7 separate regions of the Homo sapiens genome follow, and regions 2, 3, 4, 5, 6 and 7 are each linked to region 1. The links are contacts of gene promoters, found by promoter capture Hi-C in blood cells and fetal thymus (Javierre and others, 2016). All regions are on one chromosome and are shown on one strand. The core of a region is centred on a gene start or on the middle of the fragment in contact, and the rest is flanking DNA. Distances in the headings are between cores, read along the strand shown.

The links. The method cuts DNA at HindIII sites, captures the fragments that hold promoters and counts their contacts. A CHiCAGO score of 5 or more calls a contact.
Region 2: a fragment that was not itself captured here is called in contact with the fragment with the promoter of CCSAP in region 1 in 1 of 17 cell types (fetal thymus); the score reaches 6.5 in fetal thymus.
Region 3: a contact is called between a fragment that was not itself captured here and the fragment with the promoter of CCSAP in region 1, in 1 of 17 cell types (total CD4 T cells). The highest score is 5.2, in total CD4 T cells.
Region 4: a fragment that was not itself captured here is called in contact with the fragment with the promoter of CCSAP in region 1 in 1 of 17 cell types (fetal thymus); the score reaches 6.9 in fetal thymus.
Region 5: a fragment that was not itself captured here is called in contact with the fragment with the promoter of CCSAP in region 1 in 15 of 17 cell types (total CD4 T cells, fetal thymus, naive CD8 T cells and 12 more); the score reaches 16.0 in total CD4 T cells.
Region 6: a contact is called between a fragment that was not itself captured here and the fragment with the promoter of CCSAP in region 1, in 4 of 17 cell types (total CD4 T cells, non-activated CD4 T cells, total CD8 T cells and 1 more). The highest score is 8.0, in total CD4 T cells.
Region 7: a fragment that was not itself captured here is called in contact with the fragment with the promoter of CCSAP in region 1 in 5 of 17 cell types (naive CD4 T cells, total CD4 T cells, total CD8 T cells and 2 more); the score reaches 8.0 in naive CD4 T cells.

The regions. Positions count from the first base shown.
Region 1 is chr1:229,341,645-229,344,347 of GRCh38, reverse strand. CCSAP (centriole, cilia and spindle associated protein) reads left to right here and starts at 1,301. Exons shown (of 4, transcript NM_145257.5): 1 at 1,301-1,436; 2 at 1,835-2,249. The coding sequence starts at 1,883. RefSeq lists silencers at 1-146, 993-1,852, 2,053-2,252. The HindIII fragment of the contact is 1,840 bases long and covers 838-2,677 here.
Region 2 is chr1:230,304,720-230,307,422 of GRCh38, reverse strand. No RefSeq gene overlaps it. Among named protein-coding and RNA genes, the nearest start is that of PGBD5, 120 kb to the left of the region's middle. RefSeq lists a silencer at 1,022-1,111. The HindIII fragment of the contact is 2,035 bases long and covers 313-2,347 here.
Region 3 is chr1:228,462,623-228,465,325 of GRCh38, reverse strand. It overlaps the pseudogene H2BC27P. Among named protein-coding and RNA genes, the nearest start is that of MIR4666A, 1.9 kb to the right of the region's middle. The HindIII fragment of the contact is 3,883 bases long and covers 1-2,703 here.
Region 4 is chr1:230,062,492-230,065,194 of GRCh38, reverse strand. It overlaps a transcript of GALNT2 not described here. Among named protein-coding and RNA genes, the nearest start is that of GALNT2, 3.4 kb to the left of the region's middle. The HindIII fragment of the contact is 4,741 bases long and covers 1-2,703 here.
Region 5 is chr1:228,663,280-228,665,982 of GRCh38, reverse strand. It overlaps a transcript of RHOU not described here. Among named protein-coding and RNA genes, the nearest start is that of RHOU, 71 kb to the left of the region's middle. The HindIII fragment of the contact is 596 bases long and covers 1,027-1,622 here.
Region 6 is chr1:228,689,598-228,692,300 of GRCh38, reverse strand. It overlaps a transcript of RHOU not described here. Among named protein-coding and RNA genes, the nearest start is that of RHOU, 45 kb to the left of the region's middle. The HindIII fragment of the contact is 1,471 bases long and covers 609-2,079 here.
Region 7 is chr1:228,728,087-228,730,789 of GRCh38, reverse strand. It overlaps a transcript of RHOU not described here. Among named protein-coding and RNA genes, the nearest start is that of RHOU, 6.0 kb to the left of the region's middle. The HindIII fragment of the contact is 1,829 bases long and covers 464-2,292 here.

The DNA.
Region 1 (2,703 bases), core at 52-2,551:
ATTTAGCTATGATGAGGTGGGCGGTGGTGGTGGGAGGCAGGATGCGGACACGTAGAAAGTAGGTGAATTCGTGGGAATCCTGACGTGGAAGCCGTGAGCGCTACTCACGGCCTGGGCTTGCTTTTTAACTGCTATATATATATTTAGATTTTCCAAAAGTTTTTTCCTTTCAAATCTTTTTGCAGCTACTGTATCAAGGCTCTTTTTTTAAGAAAGGGAAAATAGTGCAGGACCACTTCTGAAACTGTAACAAATGGGGCAACGTTGTATTCTTCTGTACAATGTAACTGGATCTGTGAAGGTTTTTATTTTTTATTTTTTATTTTTTTTGAGACGGAGTCTTGCTCTGTCGCCCAGGCTGGAGTGCAGTGGCGCAATCTAGGCTCACTGCAAGCTCCGCCTCCCGGGTTCACGCCATTCTCCTGCCTCAGGCTCCCGAGTAGCTGGGACTACAGCCGTTCACCACCACGCCGGGCTAATTCTTTTTATTTTTATTTTTTTAGTAGAGATGGGGTTTCACTGTGTTAGCCAGGATGGTCTCGATCTCCTGACCTCGTGAGCCACCCGCCTCGGCCTCCCAAAATGCTGGGATTACAGGCGTGAGCCACAGCGCTCAGCCGGATCTGTGGAGGTTTTATGAGCAAAAAGGGAAAACAGTGCGGGGCCACTTTTGAAACTGTAACAAATGGGGCAACGTTGTATACTTCTGCACAAAGTAACTGGATCTGTGAAGGTTTTATGTGTAAAAAGGGAAAAGAGTGTGGGGCCACTTTTGAAACTGTAACAAATGGGACAACTTTGTATACTTCTGCACAACGTAAGTTAATCTGTCAAGCTTTTATGTGCAAACGAATCTCTGAGCGAGTGAAATGGTTTTGATCAAAATCTAAAAGAATTTGGGGAGTGTAGATATAAAAGGGAGTTAAAGCCAGAGTAACAGGTGTTGTGAACACAGAGAGGAAGAACCGGTAGGTTTCGAGTGAGGACAGAGAGTGTCGCCCCCGGCCGCAGCCTGGGGGGGCTGCATATCTGGAGGGATCATCTCTTGCCCCTAACTGACGACTCCTGCAGAGTGACGCGTGCCTGGGACAGCGTCTGCTGGGACCAGGGTGGACGGGCACCTCAAATAAGTGGGCCAGGGACCTGGGCCTGGGCCCCTCGGACTGGCAGGCACGCCCGCACCCCCGCGCCTCGCGCTCTCTACGGAAGCAGCCGCCCCCACGGAGCGGGCGGAGGCCCGGGGGCCGGGAGCGCGCGTGGAGGCTCCGGGACTGAGGCGGCGCCACCGCCTCCCGCCTGCAGCTGGAGCGCGGGCCGCCGCGGCGACATCTTGCTCAGGAGGAAAGCGCGCGGGAGAGCGAGCTGCGCTTTAGCTGCTGCGCCACGCGCGCCTCGGGCCTGGGCGCAGAGGATCGGCCGGGCGCGGCGGGAAGGAGGTAAGGCAGCCCCGCGGGACCGCACGCCTAGCTCAGGGGACGCCTCCGGAGACCCCAGGACCACCCGATCACGGGCCCCGCCGCTCCCCTCCCTCGCTCCTCCTCCCGCTCAGCCCCAGTCTCCTGCGGTCCCCTCGCCCCAGCCCGCAGCCTCCCTGCCTTCCGCCCACTGAGCAGCCCTCCTCGGCGGCGCGCCCCTCGACCCCAGCAGCCCCGGTCCCCGCCTCTGCTCTTGGTCCCGGCCGCCGGGTGAGGCCGCCCCCGCCCCGCCCCCTCCCCGCCCTCGCCGGGACCCGCCCCCTGCTCCCGTCCGGGCGGGGCTCCGGGTTTAAACGTCGCGGCGGGCAGGGCCGGCGGAGGGGCGGGGCGGCCTCTGTGTCGTGTACCGGGTCCCGTAGGCTGCGGGCAGCGAGGAGCGGCTGGCGCTCGAGGCGGCGGACGGCACCATGTCCCCGGGGAGCGGGGTGAAGAGCGAGTACATGAAGCGCTACCAGGAGCCGCGCTGGGAGGAGTACGGGCCGTGCTACCGCGAGCTGCTGCACTACCGCCTAGGCCGCCGGCTGCTGGAGCAGGCGCACGCGCCCTGGCTCTGGGACGACTGGGGCCCGGCCGGCTCCTCGGAGGACTCGGCGTCGTCAGAGTCGTCGGGCGCCGGGGGCCCCGCACCCCGGTGCGCCCCGCCCTCGCCCCCGCCGCCCGTAGAGCCGGCGACCCAGGAGGAGGCGGAACGGCGGGCGCGCGGGGCCCCGGAGGAGCAGGACGCGGAGGCCGGGGACGCGGAGGCCGAGGACGCGGAGGACGCGGCTCTGCCAGGTACCCGGCCCGGAGGGGAGCGCGAGGGGCCTGCACGCAGGGACGGTTTGCTCTAAGCTCTGAGCAGCTGATCTCTTATTTCTTGCGCCACTCGGGGCTGGCTCTTCCTTTTTTTTTTTTCGGTTGACAGAATCCGTCTCTCTTGACAAAATAGGGAAGGTGGCAGCCTTTGCCACCCTTTATTTCCTTAATTAGGTGGCTTTCGGTCGAGCCAGCGGTGAACTCAATTGAAGCGCCGCTGGCTGAGTCTGGGGTCTTTCCTCGCGGGCCTCTGCGGCTTGGCAAACCTCTGAATCCCATCTTATTTCTTGGCGAACCACTGAGTCCCATCTGCTTATTTCTAGGCGCCCATTTTTGATCAGAGGAGCCCCAGCTTTAATCAGATTCTCAAAGGTAACCCAAAAGGTTAAGAACCACAGAGCTAAGCTTTGTCTGATGAATGGGGCCATTGTTT
Region 2 (2,703 bases), core at 81-2,580, 960 kb before region 1:
GTGGAGGGAGGGAAGGCCTTCGACATAGACAGGGAGTGAGCTAAGGTGTTGGGAGGGAGCCAATGAATGAATGGGGTTGGGTGGTGGGGGGAGTAGTTGGATACGAGTCAAAAAAGTGGATTAAGCCCCAGTGCTGAAGGGCCTCATGGGCAGGAAAATCATTATTTCTTCTGTAGGGCAGGAATTCAGGGCTCCACTTGTAAGGAAAATATTGTTTTGTGTATGTATATGTGACTTTCTTTTTCTTTCTGGCAAGAAGTCCATAGATTTCATCAGTTACAAAGGTTCCATCAACCTGCAACTGTTTAAGCTTAAGTGTCCTTGCCCCAGACTTTAAATTTTTCTTTCTCAGTAAACTAAGGGATGTTTACTGTAAAAGCATTGACTTGTTTGTGATGCTTCACGTTGGGCTAGAGGTGAGGTTTGGGGATACACCCTTGGAAGGCTGTATCAACTCTACTTACAGATGCTTTTGATGTCGTCCCCGTGATACCAACGAGTGAAACTCCCGTCATTGTAGATGACTGTCAATAAACATCCTTGCCTTTCCCATTTTGCTGTTGGCACAACCTGTTTTTTTGTTTTGTTTTGTTTTTTGTTTTTTTTTAAATTACCAAGGCCAGGCACAGTGGCTCACGTCTGTAATCCCAGCACTTTGGGGGCCGAGGCGGGCGGATCACGAGGTCAGGAGATTGAGACCATCCTGGCTAACATGGCGAAACCCCATCTCTACTAAAAATACAAAAAATTAGCCGGGCATGGTGGCAGGCGCCTGTAGTCCCAGCTACTGGGGAGGCTGAGGCAGGAGAATGGTGTAAACCTGGGAGGCAGAGCTTGCAGTGAGCGAGATCATGCCACTGCACTCCAGCCTGGGTGACAGAGCAAGACTCCATCTCAAAAAAAAAAAAAAAAAAATAGCAAAAGATACTTGGACATGTCATCATAAGAAATTCTCGTTAGTATTCATGCTTTTCATAAAATGATGAAATTGACCTTCACATGTCTTCCTTCCCTCCTCCACCCCCACCACGAGAGGGCATTGACTTCCGCCCTCTGAGTCTAGGAGAGGTAAGCACTGTGCATCAATTTAGTTTTACTTTCAGAGCTTGGTACAGTTTGGATATTTGTCACCTCCAAATCTCATGTTGAAATGTGATCCCCAGTGTTGGAGGTGGGGTCTAATGAGAGGTGCTTGGATCATGGGGTGGATCCCTTATGAATGGCTTGGTGCCATCCCCATCGCAATAAATGAGCTCTCATTCTGTTAGTTACCTTTAGGTTTGGTTGTTTAAAAAGAGCCTGAAGCCAGGTACGGTGGCTCATGCCTGTAATCCCAGCACTTTGGGAGACTGAGGCAGGAGGATCACTTGAGGTCAGGAGTTCAAGACCAGCCTGGTCAACATCATGAAACCCCATCTCTACTAAAAATACAAAAATTAGCTGGGCTTGGTGGCAGGTGCCTGTGATCCCAGCTACTCAAGAGACTGAGGCACAAGAATCGCTTGAACCCAGGAGGCAGAGGTTGCAGTGAGCCAAGATTGCACCACTGCACTCCAGCCTGGGTGACTGAGCGAGACTCTGTCTCAAAAAACAAGAGCTTGGGGCCAGGCTTGGCAGCTCATGCCTGCAATCCCAGCACTTTGGGAGACCCAGCCAGGTGGATCACTTGAGGTCAAGAGTTCAAGACCAGCCTGGCCAACATGGTGAAACCCTATCTCTACTAAAAATACAAAAATAAGCTGGGCTTCTTGGTGGGTGCCTGTGATCCCAGCTACTTGGGATGCCAAGACCTGAGAATCTCTTAAACCTGGGAGGCGGACAGGGGTTGCACTGGACCAAGTTCACGCCACTGCACCCCAGCCTGGGTGAAAGAGTGAGACTCCATTTCAAAAACAAGTAAATAAAATAAAGAGAGACTGGCATGTCCTCCCCTTTCTCTCTTGCTCCCTTTCTCTTGCCATATGACATGACAGCTCCCCTTCCCCTCCCACCATGATTGGAAGCTCCCTGAGACCCTCAGCAGAAGCAGATGCTGGTGCCATGCTTCTCTGCAGCCTGCAGAACTGTGAGCCAAATAAACCTCTTTTACTGATAAATTACCCAGTGTCCGATATTCCTTTATAGCAATACAAAATAAATTTATTCAGAGCTCTTTCTAGGCCTTTTTACATACATGCAGCCTTTTTCTTTTTTAAAAACATTAATTGGATCAGATTATACATATTTGTCACTTTTTCTCTTATCATTGATCTTTATTTACATGTGTCTACGCTATTTTTAAATGATGTAATATATGCCATAGTATATATGTACAAAGATAACAAAATTATTCCCCCATTGATAAGCTTTTAGAATGTCTGGCTTTTTTTTTTTTTTTTTTTTTTTAGATGGAGTCTCTCTCTGTCTCCAGGCTGGAGTGCAGTGGCACAATCTCAGCTCACTGCAACCTCCGCCTCCCGGGTTCAAGTGACTCCGTCCCTTCCTCTTGGTGTATAGATATATGACATTTAATCACACTTGTAGACTCCAGTAATCACCACCTCAGTCAGGACGTGAAACTGTCCTATCTCCCCAAAGAAACTCCCTTATGCTACTCCTTAATAGCCTGGCCCAATATGTTCTTCTTTCTTTTTTTTATTAAGATATAAACATGCATGATAAATTATGTAAATTGTACTATCAAACATATAAACTGTAAAATAA
Region 3 (2,703 bases), core at 98-2,597, 880 kb after region 1:
CCCTTTGCATTACGGCTGTCACTTCGAAGGGGTTTGGGGAGACCTTAAAAACAATAGGAAAGACTAAGTTTCATTTGAAACCCATTCAATTTCTCCAGTTAAAACTCTGCCTCATGACAATTCCAATTGAAGTACCTTAGCATGTTTTCTGTACTATTTTCTGTATTTCCTAACGAACCGTTTGGATTTACAATTGAATTCTGAGAAGAATGCATCTCTTTGATCTTTGGAGGAATGGAGGGAAGGGCAAGAAACGAAGGGTTAAGGTCGTTGCAAACTGCCATTCCCACCGCCACCTCCCCTTCTAAATAAGCACTAACTACCCCTCCCTAGCTGTGGGCCTCAGAAAAAAAAAATGCCCCCATGTATGTGCCTCACAGCCAGAGAAGACCTCAATTTGGGGTTGCAACCGTTTTTCAGTTTCTCTTTAGCTACCTCCAGATCCGCTGCAGACACAAAAATCTCCAGGTTTAAAACAAAGGCTTTGAACAAAGATGCGCAACCTCAGCTCCGGCGCGCGGCGGATATGCCTTGGGATTGGTTGGACCGCCGTCCAATAGGAAAGAAGAACCGGACTCTGCTATTTACAGAAATTCCTCCCAGTGGCGGCCGCGGAGTCAGGCCGTCCAATCAGACACTACAAATTTGGAGCCTTAATTTGAATATAAAGATGGCAAATAGCCCTGCCGGCCCCGCATCCGCGTTCGTCTAGGCGCTCTTGTCACCTCGCCATGCCGGAGCCATCGCGGGCGGCTCCGGCTTCTAAAAAGGGCTCCAAGAAGGCCATTACCAAGGCGCAGAAGAAGGACGGCAAGAAGCGCAAGCGCGGCCGCAAGGAGAGCTATTCTATCTACGTGTACAAGGTGCTGAAGCAGGTGCACCCCGACACCGGCATCTCGTCCAAGGCCATGGGCATCATGAACTCCTTCGTCAATGACATCTTCGAGCGCATCGCCAGCGAGGCCTCCCGCCTGGCGCACTACAAACAAGCGCTCCACCATCACGTCCCGCGAAGTGCAGACGGCCGTGCGCCTGCTGCTGCCCGGCGAGCTGGCCAAGCACGCCGTGTCCGAGGGCACTAAGGCTGTCACCAAGTACACCAGCTCCAAGTGAGGTGCGTCCCGGCGCCCCGAACCCAAAGGCTCTTTTCAGAGCCACCTCCAAGCTCCAAAAGGAGCGTGCCACCTGGTCTGGTTGTGACCTGTGATTCAATTGGAGTAATGAGGGAAAGTAGACTGAGCCGTGGGGGCGCAAGTCTTAGAGACAAAATTAGGCTTCTTGTTTGTAACGGCATATTTCCCTTAGAAAGGCTGCGTTCGTCTTGTGTTGGCCACAGGCAAAGTCAGAGAGGGGGCAGTACAGGCGATTGCGCCATGGATCCCATCCAAAGATCTGTGTGTGGCTTACGCCCTGCGCGCGAGGAGCGTGGGTCACCTCCGGGAAGATCTTGTGCCACGTCCCCGCCCCCAGTGCCTCCTGGCGGCTGAGACTGGAGGACGTGCTCACTGAGGTCCGGGGTTGGAGGTGAGGGGGTTATCGCGCCGTCTGGGCGGAGGCGCTTGGGTCCGTTCTTCTCCCGCCCCTTTCCTCCCTCCTTAGCCACAACTAGACACTGTGAGCTTCTAGCCAAAACCATTTCAGCAGCGTTGCGCCTAAGCAGCTCTTTATGCCACGCCTTCCTGCTTGAAACATCAAAACAGCAGGCTCACAGATCTCCTTATCACTCAGCTAAAATTTCCCCAATTAAGGGATTCTCGTATTTTACCCCCAAAATGTGTGTGTGTGTGTGTGTACGCATATTACACAGTGAAAGATTATTTTGAATAATGCAAATATAGTGCTTTTTAAAAAAAACTCCAGCAAATCATAGGAAAAATAAGTATGATCTCTGGATGACACATTAAAAACTAAGGCATGCAGGCCTGACTGGGGCCCAGGCTGTCCTCCCCCTAAAAATACCCCATACCGGTGACACCCCAACCACGAATACCTGAGAGCTACCCACCCTCTAAGCAAAAACGTTGCCTGGAATTAGAATTCGGTTTCCAGGCTCAGTTCCCACTGGTAGAAGATGCACTCTACCCAGGCTCAGTTCCCACTGCACACTCCCAACACAATGACAGCCACGCATTTATCAACATTTAACCTCTCTGGCCTCATAAAGTAAATCCATTTTCTTGGGTTAGTTTCTTCTTAAAGGGAGTTTTCTTTCCTCCAAATTCTTTTTGTAAATAGGCTTTATTTTTTAGAGCACTTTTTCAGAGCAATATGCTTTTTTATTAGTAGTACGTAATAGTTGTACATATTTGGGGGGTACAAATATTTTGATATACGCATAGGCTTAACAATCAAACCAGGGCAACTGGGACATCCGTCATCATATTCACACCCTCTTTAGGTCGAGATCATTCCAATTCCTCTCCTCCAGCAATACAACTAATTATTGTTAACTACAGTCACCCTACTTTTCTAACCAATACTAGATGTTACCATTTCTTCTAAGCATATTTTTGTACCCATTAATCAACTTCATCTCCTCCTTTCCCCACCACTCTTCCCAGCTTCTGGTAACCAGCAATCAACTTTCTACCTCCATGAGATGCATGTTCTTAGCTCCCACGTATGAGTGAGATCATGCAGTATTTGTCTTTCTGTGCCTGATTTGTTTTACTTAACATAATGTCCTCCAGTTCCATCCATGTT
Region 4 (2,703 bases), core at 59-2,558, 720 kb before region 1:
ATAGAAGTAAAAAGGTTCAGAGAGAAGAGGTTAAAATAAAAGCCAGGAAAGGAAGACCAAAATACATGTTAAGTGGAGTCCCTAAAGTACAAACATTAAACAATAAAACCTAATTAATATTAAAACTATAACCCCAGAAAATAATCCAGGAATAAGGGAAAATTTAAATGTACATGTCAAAAGTGACTTCCATGTACCTTGGGAAATGATCTGGAATTATCAACTCCTAAATATATTTTAGTAAAACGATTAGATTTTAAAGGCAAAAAAGATCAAATTGCTTATAGAGATAAAAATTTATGCTGGCATCAGACTTCTGAACAGCAACATGCAAAGCCAGGCAACAGTGGAGCAGCATTAACAAGGAACAAAAGTGCCAGGCAGGCTGGGCATAGTGGCTCATGCCTGTAATCCCAGCACTTTGGGAGGCCAGAGTGGGTGGATCACCTGAGGTCAGGAGTTCAAGACCAGCCTGGCCAAAGTGGTGAAACCCCATCACTAAAAAAAATATGAAACTTAGCCGGCAGGTGCCTGTAATCGCAGCTACTCGAGAGGCTGAGGTGGAAGAATCATTTGAACCCGGGAGGCAGAGGTTGCAGTGAGCTGAGATCATGCCATTGCACTCCAGCCTGGGTGACAGAGCGAGACTCCATGACACACACACAAAAAAGTACCAGGCAGTGATTTTTATACCCAGCCCTCAAGTGTCAAGGTTGTAGGCAAACAGATATGACCTGAATGCAAAAATTCAGAGAACGTGACTCACATGGGCCTTTCATGAGGAATCTTAGAGAATGAGCTTCCTCCAACCAAGAGACAGCTGAGGAAGCCAGCAGAGTGACTAATGGAGAGCATTTTGTATATTCAGAAGGTGAAAGACTAGTGTATATACATTATACTTTCTGATAAACTTAGAACAGGTGCAACTAAAGACAACTGGAGGAGAAGGGGAAGAGCGAAGGGAAAATAGAATAATATCATTGTCTGCAATATCAGTAGCAGGTAGTAGTGAAAGGATACCATATAAAACAGACAGACCAGATGTTAAAAGGTTAGAAACAAAATATAGGAATTAAGGGTAATATATTAAAAATATAAATAAAAATCACTACAACAAAATATATGTATTCCCAAATATTGGAAACCCTATTCCAAAACCCCAAAAGTTCTAAAAATAGCAAAGAATACATACCAAATAATGAAAGAAACACAGTAAGTGTGGCACAGTGATGCAGTAGTTATAATAGGAAACAATATGACACAGCTGAGACCAACCCACATCAGATATAACAATTTATAAGTGGGCTCAGTTCACCCTTTAAAATAAAAGATTTTCAAATGTAGGCATAACGGAAACCCCAACTCTGAAAAAGCAGGTGCTGTGATTCTGATATCAAACAAAACAGAGTAGGCCAAAAAGCATTAAATGAGATGAAGAGGGACAATTTATAGCCCAAAACTTCCCTTCCTAAACACTTATCAATTGTATATCATTAGGATTTGATCTGCAAAGTAAAATCATTATTAGTTTGATGGAATAAGCGATGTATGATAGAGATTAAACTTTAGACAATGTTAGAGGTAGAAGAAAAAAGGTTATGGAAGTCTTTCCATTGTACATGGGGCAGGTCTGAAGTCACTGTAGTTTCTAGACCTGGGAATCAGAAGAATAGCTAGATGTGACATGGGGCATTTCAAAGACAAAGTCAAAACTGCAAGGACAAAATGTACCTCATGAGAACAACTAGAATTCATGAGGACAAACTGTAATGTACCTCCAGTGTTGATTATGGAAATAAAAAACAAAACACAACAAAAACCCACAGTGAGATACCACTTCATATCCATTAGGATAGCTATTATATAAAATTTTTTTTTTTTTTTTTGGTGGACACTTGCTCTGTCGCCGAGGCTAAAGTGCAGTGGCACAATCTCGGCTCACTGCAACCTCCACCTCCTGGGGTCAAGCCATTCTCCTGCCTCAGACTCCTAAGCAGCTGGGCCTACAGGCATGTACCACCATGCCCTGCTAATTTTTGTATTTCTAGTAGAGACAGGGTTTCACCATATTGGCCAGGCTGGTCGCAAACTCCTGACCTCATGATCCACCTGCCTCAGCCTCCCAAAGTGCTGGGATTACAGGTGTGAGCCACCGCGCCCAGCCTATAAAACATTTTTAAAATAAATAAATAAATAAATAACAAGTGTTGGTGAGGATGTAGAGAAATTGGAACCCTTACGCACTGCTGTTGAAAATGGTATAGTGGTTCCTCAAAAAATTAAATTTAGAACTACTATATGATCCAGCAATTCCATTTCTGGTTGTATACATAAAGGAATTGAAAGCAGCGACTCAAACGGATATTTGTATATCCACATTCATAGCAGTGTTATTTACAGTGGCCAAAGGGTGGGACAACACAAATATCTATCAACAGATAAATGGACAAGCAGAATGTGGTATATCCATGCAATGGAATATTATTCAGCCCTAAAAAAGAAGAAAATTCTAACACATACCAGAACATGGATGAACGTTGAGGACAATATGCTAGATGAAATGAGCGAGACACAAAAAGACAAATACCAAATGATTTCACTTATATGAGTTTCCTACAGTAACCAAAATCATAGAGGCAAAAAGTAAAATGGCAGTCACCAGGGGCTTGAGGAAGAGAGGAATTAGGAGTTCCCATTATTATT
Region 5 (2,703 bases), core at 75-2,574, 680 kb after region 1:
GTCAAAAAAAAAAGAACACTTCTAGATGCTGGGGTGAAGAAGGCTTTTGTCCATCTTGTGTTAATTATGACCTTTTTATTCTGTATTTTTGATGCTTTGACATCTTGGGGCCTTGCTGACCCTGGAGGGACTGCTTTCTCCCAGGGTAGAAGGTATTACTATTTGAACCACTAGACTGAGTCAAAATGATCTGTCCTCACCAATGTGGATAGGCATTATTCTTCCAATTCCTTGAAGGTCTCAACAGAACAAAAAGACAGGGGAAGGACAAATTTGCTCTTTATTCTGGAGCTAGGACATCCAACTTCTGCTCTCTGACATCAGAACTGCAGGTTCTCAATCCTGGGACTCTGGGACTCATATTAGTGTTCCCCATCCCACTCTACTCAAAGATATATTACTGTCCCCACTCCACTCAAAGATATATTACTGTTCCCCACTCCACTCTACCAAAGATACCTGATTTGAGTCACTCAGAAGACTAGGTAGGGGTTTATTGAGGGAGCTGGCAACCCATCCCCGACATGTGTGACCCAGCCAGAACCAGAGCAGTAGGAGCCTCACTGCCTTCACCCTAGTGCTGCCACGTAGAGCAGCTAGAGCCTCTCCTGTGGACTCAAGCCTGACAGTGGGAGTTCCCTTGGGAAGGTAGGATCACCTTCACCTCTTTATCTTGGTTTCTTTATCGGTACAATGGAAATGGTAATAATAGTACCTAAATCTTGGGGTTATCATAAAGATTAAAGTAATTAAAGCATGTGAAGTGCTTAGACCATGCCTAGTGCATAGCAGGCACTTTATAATCATTTACTTCAATAAAAACATAGGTCCTGGAGCCAAAGGCTTGACCTTAATTGATATGTGAACCAGGTAAAAGTCACTTAGCCATTCTGAGTTTCAGTTTTCTTATTTGTAAAATGAAAATAAAATAGTACCTATCTTGAAGGGTTTTCATGAAGATTAAATAAGCTAATAGGAAGAAATCACCATAACAGCCTGGCACCACAAATGTTAGTTAATAAAGCTTGGCAAGCCGGGCACGGTGGCTCACACCTGTAATCCCAGCACTTTGGGAGGCCGAGGCGGATGGATCACCTGAGGTCGGTGGATCACCTGAGGTCAGGATTTCGAGACCAAAATGGCCAACATGGTGAAACCCCATCTCTACCAAAATACAAAAAATTAGCCGGTCATGGTGGCAGGCGCCTGTAAACCCAGCTACTCGGGAGGCTGAAGCAGAAGAATTGCTTGAACCTGGGAGACGGAGGTTGCAATGAGCTGAGATTGCGCCATTGCACTCCAGCCTGGGCAACAAGGACAAACCTCTGTCTCAAAATCAATCAATCTTGGCAATGAACACGGGTTCCTCCTGGCAAAGGTTTTGGCTCTGTGGGGTAATGCTGCCCTCTGCCGGACAATTTGGTTTCTTGCTTTGTTTGTTTTAATAAACTGTTGGGTTTTTTCCCAAAGTCCCACCCCACCTAGCAAAAAGGTTAACATTCTTCATAAAGATTATTTTCTCAGAATACGTTTCTGAGAAAATGAGTACAAACATGATTTGTTGATTCGCTATCCGCAAATGGCTTTCCTCATTTGAGGAACAAATGAGCCACTTGGAAGCTTACTTGGGCTGCAATTTTATTTCCAATTTTATCTTTATGAAGAAATCCAGGCCGAGCGCAGCGGCTCACACCTGTAATCCCAACACTTTGGGAGGCCGAGGAGGGCCGATGCCCAGGAGTTCGAGACCAGCCTGGGAAATATGGAGAAACCTCGCCTCTACAAAAACTACAAAAAATTAGCCGAGCCTGGTGGCACACATCTGTAGTCCCAGCTACTCGGTAGGCTGAAGTGGGAGATCACGCGAGCCCGAGAGGTCAAGACTGCAGTGAGCCGTGATAGTGCCACTGCTCTCCAGCCTGGGCGACAGAAGATAAGAAAAGAAGAGAAGGGAAGAGAAAAAAAGGAGAGGGGAGAGGAGGGGAGGGGAGGGGAGGGGAGGGAAGGGGAGGGGAGGGGAGGGGAGAAGAAAAAGAAATCCAGCTATGTTGGCCGGGCGTGGCGGCTCGCGCCTGTAATCCCAGCACTTTGAGAGGCCAAGGCGGGTGGATCACTTGAGGTCAGGAGTTCGGGACCAGCCTGGCCAACATGGTGAAGCCCCGTCTCTACTAAAAATACAAAAATTAGCCAGGTATGGTGTCGCGCGCGCGTAATCCCAGCTACGTGGGAGGCTGAGGCAGGAGAATCGCTTGATCTCGGGAGGCGGAGGTTGCAGTGAGTTGAGATCATGCCACTGCACCCCAGCCTGGGGGACAGAGTGAAATTCCGTCTCAAAAAAAAAAAAAAAAAAAAAAAAAGAAAAGAAAAGAAAAGAAAAGAAAAACAGAAAAGAAAAATAAAAATAAAGAAAAATAATGTCAGCTATGTGTTGAGATATTGCTGCTTAATTTTTTTTAACTTTTCTTTTTTCTTCTTAAACTCAATAGTAAGAATATGCTTAACTTTTCCGATTTTCCTTATTATTGCTTTCCTATGAGTTGAGAATATTGTGATAAGTGCCTAGTCTGGTAATTTGCACACACATTGTATTCTCTTGTTACAGTTACAGTGTGATAAAATAAATAAATGAAAAGTCATAGCATGGCAAAAAGTATAGCACTTGAAACACTGTAGTGTGCTAGTTGCCTCACTGTGGTTTGTGAT
Region 6 (2,703 bases), core at 95-2,594, 650 kb after region 1:
ATTGAAAGATGATATTTTAGAAGAATGTATACATTTCATTAAAACACACATTGGATTTTCTGCTCCAAGTATCTGTTGGCTCTAATTCTACTCATCTTCCAGTCTTGGGTTTTCAGTGCTCACCTGACACCAGGATCTGAATTTAAAATATCTTGGGCACCACCTTGTGGTCCAATTGTTCTACCCTTTGTAAAAGTGCTTATGCAAGCTATTTACTCATTACTTCGTACATAATTACAGCCTAAAGTATTTATGGTTAAAAGCAACCACTGCATTTTTGAAGGTCTCATGCAGTCAAAGAGGAAGTTCATGATTGCATTTAGTCTGTACTTAATGGATACTCTAAGTCTAATCATTCCCAAGTACAATAAACTTTGGATAATATGATTAAATACTTCTGCCATGATTCTTTTAACCTTCATATTGACTTTGTTAACGTTTGAAACGGTTGCCTTGGTGAGAGGGGATAGCAGAAACTAGATTTATAGCTGTACTGTTTGGGTCAAATTTTACCCACTGTTCTTAGATACTGAGGATTAAGGATGAAAAATTATAGCCTGCAAAACTTATGTCCACACAAAATCTGTACATAGATATTCATAGAAGCTTTATTCATAATTGCCAAAACTTGGAAATTACTAAGATGTCCTTCAGTAGGTGAATGGATAAGTAAACTGTGGTACATCCTGAATATCATTCATCACTAAAAGGAAATAAGCTATTGAGCCTCTACAAGACATGAAGAACCTTAAATGCATGAAAGAAGCCAATCTGAAAAGGCCACACACTATAAGATTCCAAGTATATGCTATTCTGAAAAAGACAAAACTATGGAAACAATAAAAAGATCAGTGGTTGCCAGGAGTTGGAGGGAGGGAGGGAGGGAGGGAGGGATGAGTGAGTGGAGCACAGATGACTTTTAGGCCAGTGAAACTCCTCTGTGTGATACCGTAGTGGTGGAAACATGTCCTTACACATTTGTCAAAACCCATAAAATGTACAACACTAAGAGTGAACCTTAATGTAAACTACAGACTGGTGATAATGATGTGTCAATATAGATTTATTGATTGTAACAAACGTACTACTCTGTAGGAAATGCTGATAGTGAGGGAGGCCTGGAAAGAGGATATGGGAACTCTCTGCATTTTCTGTTCAATTTTCTGGGAACCTAAAGAGGTTTTGAAAAATAAAGTCTATTTAAAAAAAAAAAAATTATAAGCTGAATCCTCGCAGTTAATTTAGCTTCTTTCACAACCAAACTTTTACAAGTAACTGAGTTAAGTCGTTTCCTCCCTAATTTGAAGGCACTATTAATGACAACATAAAAGCACAAAACACAGTACTTAAGCACTATGTGATACACTCTTTTAAAACTAATCTTCCACCATGCACGGAGGCTCACGCCTGTAATCTCAGCACTTTGGGAGGCCGAGGAGGTCAGATCATGAGGTCAAGAGTTCGAGACCAGCCTGCCCAACATGGTGAAACCGCGTCTCTACTAAAAGTAAAAAAATTAGCCAGGCTATGTGGTGGGCGCCTGTAATCTCAGCTGCTCGGGAGACTGAGGCAGAAGAATCGCTTGAAATCAGAAGGCAAAGGTTTCAGTGAGCCGAGATCACGCCACTGCACTCCAGCCTGGGCAAAAGAGCAAAACTCCATCTCAAAAAAAACCAAACAGCCGGGCCTGGTGGCTCACGCCTGTAATCCCAGCACTTTGGGAGGCCAAGGCGGGCGGATCAGCTGAGGTCAGGAGTTCGAGACCAGCCTCAATATGGAGAAACCCCGTCTCTACTAAAAATACAAAATTAGCCAGGCGTGGTGGTGCATGCCTGTAATCCCAGCTACTCAGGAGGCTGAGGCAGGAGAATTGCTTGAACCTGGGAGGCGGAGGTTGCGGTGAGCCGAGATCATGCCATTGCACTCCAGCCTGGGAAACAAGAGCAAAACTCCATCTCAAAGAGAAAAAAAAAAAACAAACAAACTAATCTTCAGCATTTGGTCTCTCAAGTTGCCCACTTGGCCCTCTTTCAAGTGTACCTTCCTTCCTTTTCTTCCTTTCCTTACTTCTCTAAAGCTTTTTAATAAACTTTCACTCCTGCTCTAAAAAACAAAAACAAACAAACAAACAAAACAAATCTTTTAAATAAAAATCAGTCTGATCAAAGAAAATTACAGCAAGTAGTACAGAGAGGTAGCTCTTTAACACTTAGTAAATGTCTTAAGTGTATTGTTTGGGGGAAAGGACACATTGAAACAGCGTTAAGAATTGATTCTGCGTGCTCCAATTACATTTTTTTTAAATTCCGGTTTCAGGCACACTGGAAAGTGTGGGAAGAGAAAGTTCTTGCTGAAATTTTGATTAAATTTTCAGTCTCAGGAGACTGACCCAAACATTTCATGGTTCACAGATGGCTTATAACAGTGGTTCCCAACATTTTTGTTGCCAGGGACCAGTTTCGTGGAAGACAATTTTTCCACGAACTAGGGGTGGTAGGGATGGTTTCGGTATGAAACTGTTCCATCTCAGATCATCAGGCATTAGTTAGATTATCATTAAGAGCCAGCACCCTAGATCCCTCACATGCACAGTTCACAATAGGGTTTGAGCTCCTGTGAGACTAATATCACTGCTGATCTGACAGGAGGCGGAGCTCAGGTGGTAATGCTCACCCACTGCTCACCTCCGGCTATGCAGCCTGG
Region 7 (2,703 bases), core at 129-2,628, 610 kb after region 1:
GCAGGTCATATAACTCTGTGTGTTCATTCACTCTTTAAATGGTAACCCTTTGCCTTGGACACATTAATCTGATTTCTTTCCTTCAGCAGTGCCCTAGTTTTTTCAATACCCTATAAGAGGACATCAGAAGAATATTTCTCTAGAACTGGAGACTCTAAGCTGGGTTGTCTATTGCCAGCATGGCTGTCTGCTCCCAGAATTTCCTTCTTTGTATGGTTCTCGGCTAAAGTTGTCCGGAGACATGATTCTCAGAATTGAGAAGACTGAAGGGAAGTGGAGGAGGGTCATATGGTCAAACATGCCAGTGGATGGACACAGCGGTGCCCAGCACATCCTCACTAGCCTCCTGCTTTGCAGTGATATCATCTCACTGCTGGCTCTGCTGACCCAGAGCAGCCTTCAGCCCTCACCCAGCCCCTGGGCCCCAAAGAGGCTGCAGTCCCTACACCTCATGCCTCAAGCTTCCCTTCCACAGCCTCCAAGGGCCATATCTGCATAACTTACTATTGGCTTTTCTCCAAGTTCCCACCAGTATCCTGCACAAGGGTTTCAGCTGGTCAGGGTTAGGCACTGTTTCCCTCTGAACTTCCCCAGCAATTCCCAAACTTGTGAAAGCTCTCCTTCCTTAACCCTGTACCTTGGAGTGGCTCTGATTTCCTGACTGGGCCCTGACCAATAGTTTCTTGTTTACCACTGGGGATGTCATCCTAGGAAAAAAAAATGACAAGGAAAATGTCTTGCCATGTTTCACTAGAAAAGATGGGGAAATCATATAAATGTCACCAAACCACCAAATGGGCCACCAGTGGCTCCTTTCAGGAATCACAAACATCAGTTAGTGTCATGGTAAGGGCTCAGACCACATGGTTGGTTGGATGTGCTGATACTAGTTTCCCTGCCTCCAGAAGTCCTTTTATCACCTGCCATCACCTTGTAGATAACTAGAATGGATAAATTAAGCTCTTCCATTGGTATCATGAAAGTTTAAGATGTAAAAATCAATCCTTAATTTTGATTGTAAAAATTATTTCTGAAACTGTTTATGTTGTTTTATACTAGTCAGATTAGGCTGTACTATGCTGCAATAATAAGTGAACTCAAAATTTCAATGTCTAGAAACATAGGAGTTAATTTTTTGGTCATGCAAAATTCACAGCAGATTTAGTAGCTCTCCAAGGCAGCTCCCTTTCAAGTGGAGACTCAGGGATGCAGTCTTCTTGCATCTTGTAACTATGCCACCTGTGACACTCATTTCTGTGTGTGCATACCCTGCATTTCTATACATGAACATGTGCATTCCTGTCTGTATATGTACCCGTGCATTTCTATGAGTGAACACATGGATTTCTGTGGGTGAACAAATGCGTATAATGGCAATTTTATAAGAGCTCAAAACTAAAAACCATATAAATGTCTAAAACAGTAAAATGGATGAGTTAATTTGGTAATTCATGATATACTACTATTCAGTCAAGAAAATGAGTGAACATACAGGAATGAATCTCATCAACTAAATGAGAGGTGAAAGAAATCAGACACAAAGGAGTATAAACTATCTTATTTGATTTATATAAAATTTAGAAATGGACAAAACTTGGCCAGGCACGGTGGCTCATGCTTGTAATCCCAGCACTTTGAGAGGCCCAGGCAGGTGGATCATGAGGTCAGGAGTTCGAGCACAGCCTGGCCAATATGGTGAAACTCCGACTCTACTGAAAATATAAAAATTAGCCCAGCGTGGTGGTGCATACCTGTAGCCCCAGCTACTTGGGAGACTAAGGTAGAAGAATCGCTTGAACCCGGGAGGCAGAGTTTGCAGTGAGGCAAGATCGTGCCACTGCACTCCAGCCTGGGCGACAGAGCGAGACTCTGTCTCCAAAAAAAAAAAAAGAAAAGAAAAGAAATTGACAAAACTCATCAGTGCTAGATGTCAGAGTAATTGGGGGCAATTGTTACATTCAGGAAGGAAAGGGGTCATGGGAAACTTCTGATGTTCAGGCAATTTCTTGATCTGAGTGGTGGTTTTATAGGTGTGCACTGTATAGTAATTATTGGCTATATATTTGTTTCATTCACTTTTGTGAATCATGCTATATTTTTAAATTTTAAAGATTAAACAAATTCAAACATATAAATCATATTAAACAGAACTCATGGTTATTTGCATTCCAAAGAACTGTTTGCTTTAGCTTAGCACAGTGCTAATCACATATTGTAAACTTTTTGAATTAAATAACACTCTAATAAAATTTAAATGTGATTTGAGTACCAAAATCCTATTTATACAAAGCTTTTCCAGGAACATGAAGTACTGCACATCATTTACATCTTTAATATTTATTTTTAATGGGGGTATCATCTTCCACCATGGCTATTTATAAGTGTTTTAATATTTTAACTAACTGAACTGGTTCTGCAGAATTATCACAAGAGATAAATGGCAATTTATATGCATCAGTTCTGGAAGAAAAATGAAAGCACCAGGGAGAGCCCTTAGAGGGATGGCAGGTAGATTTGCCTAGAGGAGAAAGGCTAGACTCGCTGCTAACGTGGAAAACAGATGCTGTTCTAGGCAGGCTGAGCTACACTGGTGGCACCTTTCCTGCATTAGTCTTGGTTTATTTTCCTCTGTTAAATCCCCTTCTCTGGGTCTTCTCAGCTGTTGCAACCCTGCCATTCCTCTTTGATGAGAAAGGCCATCTC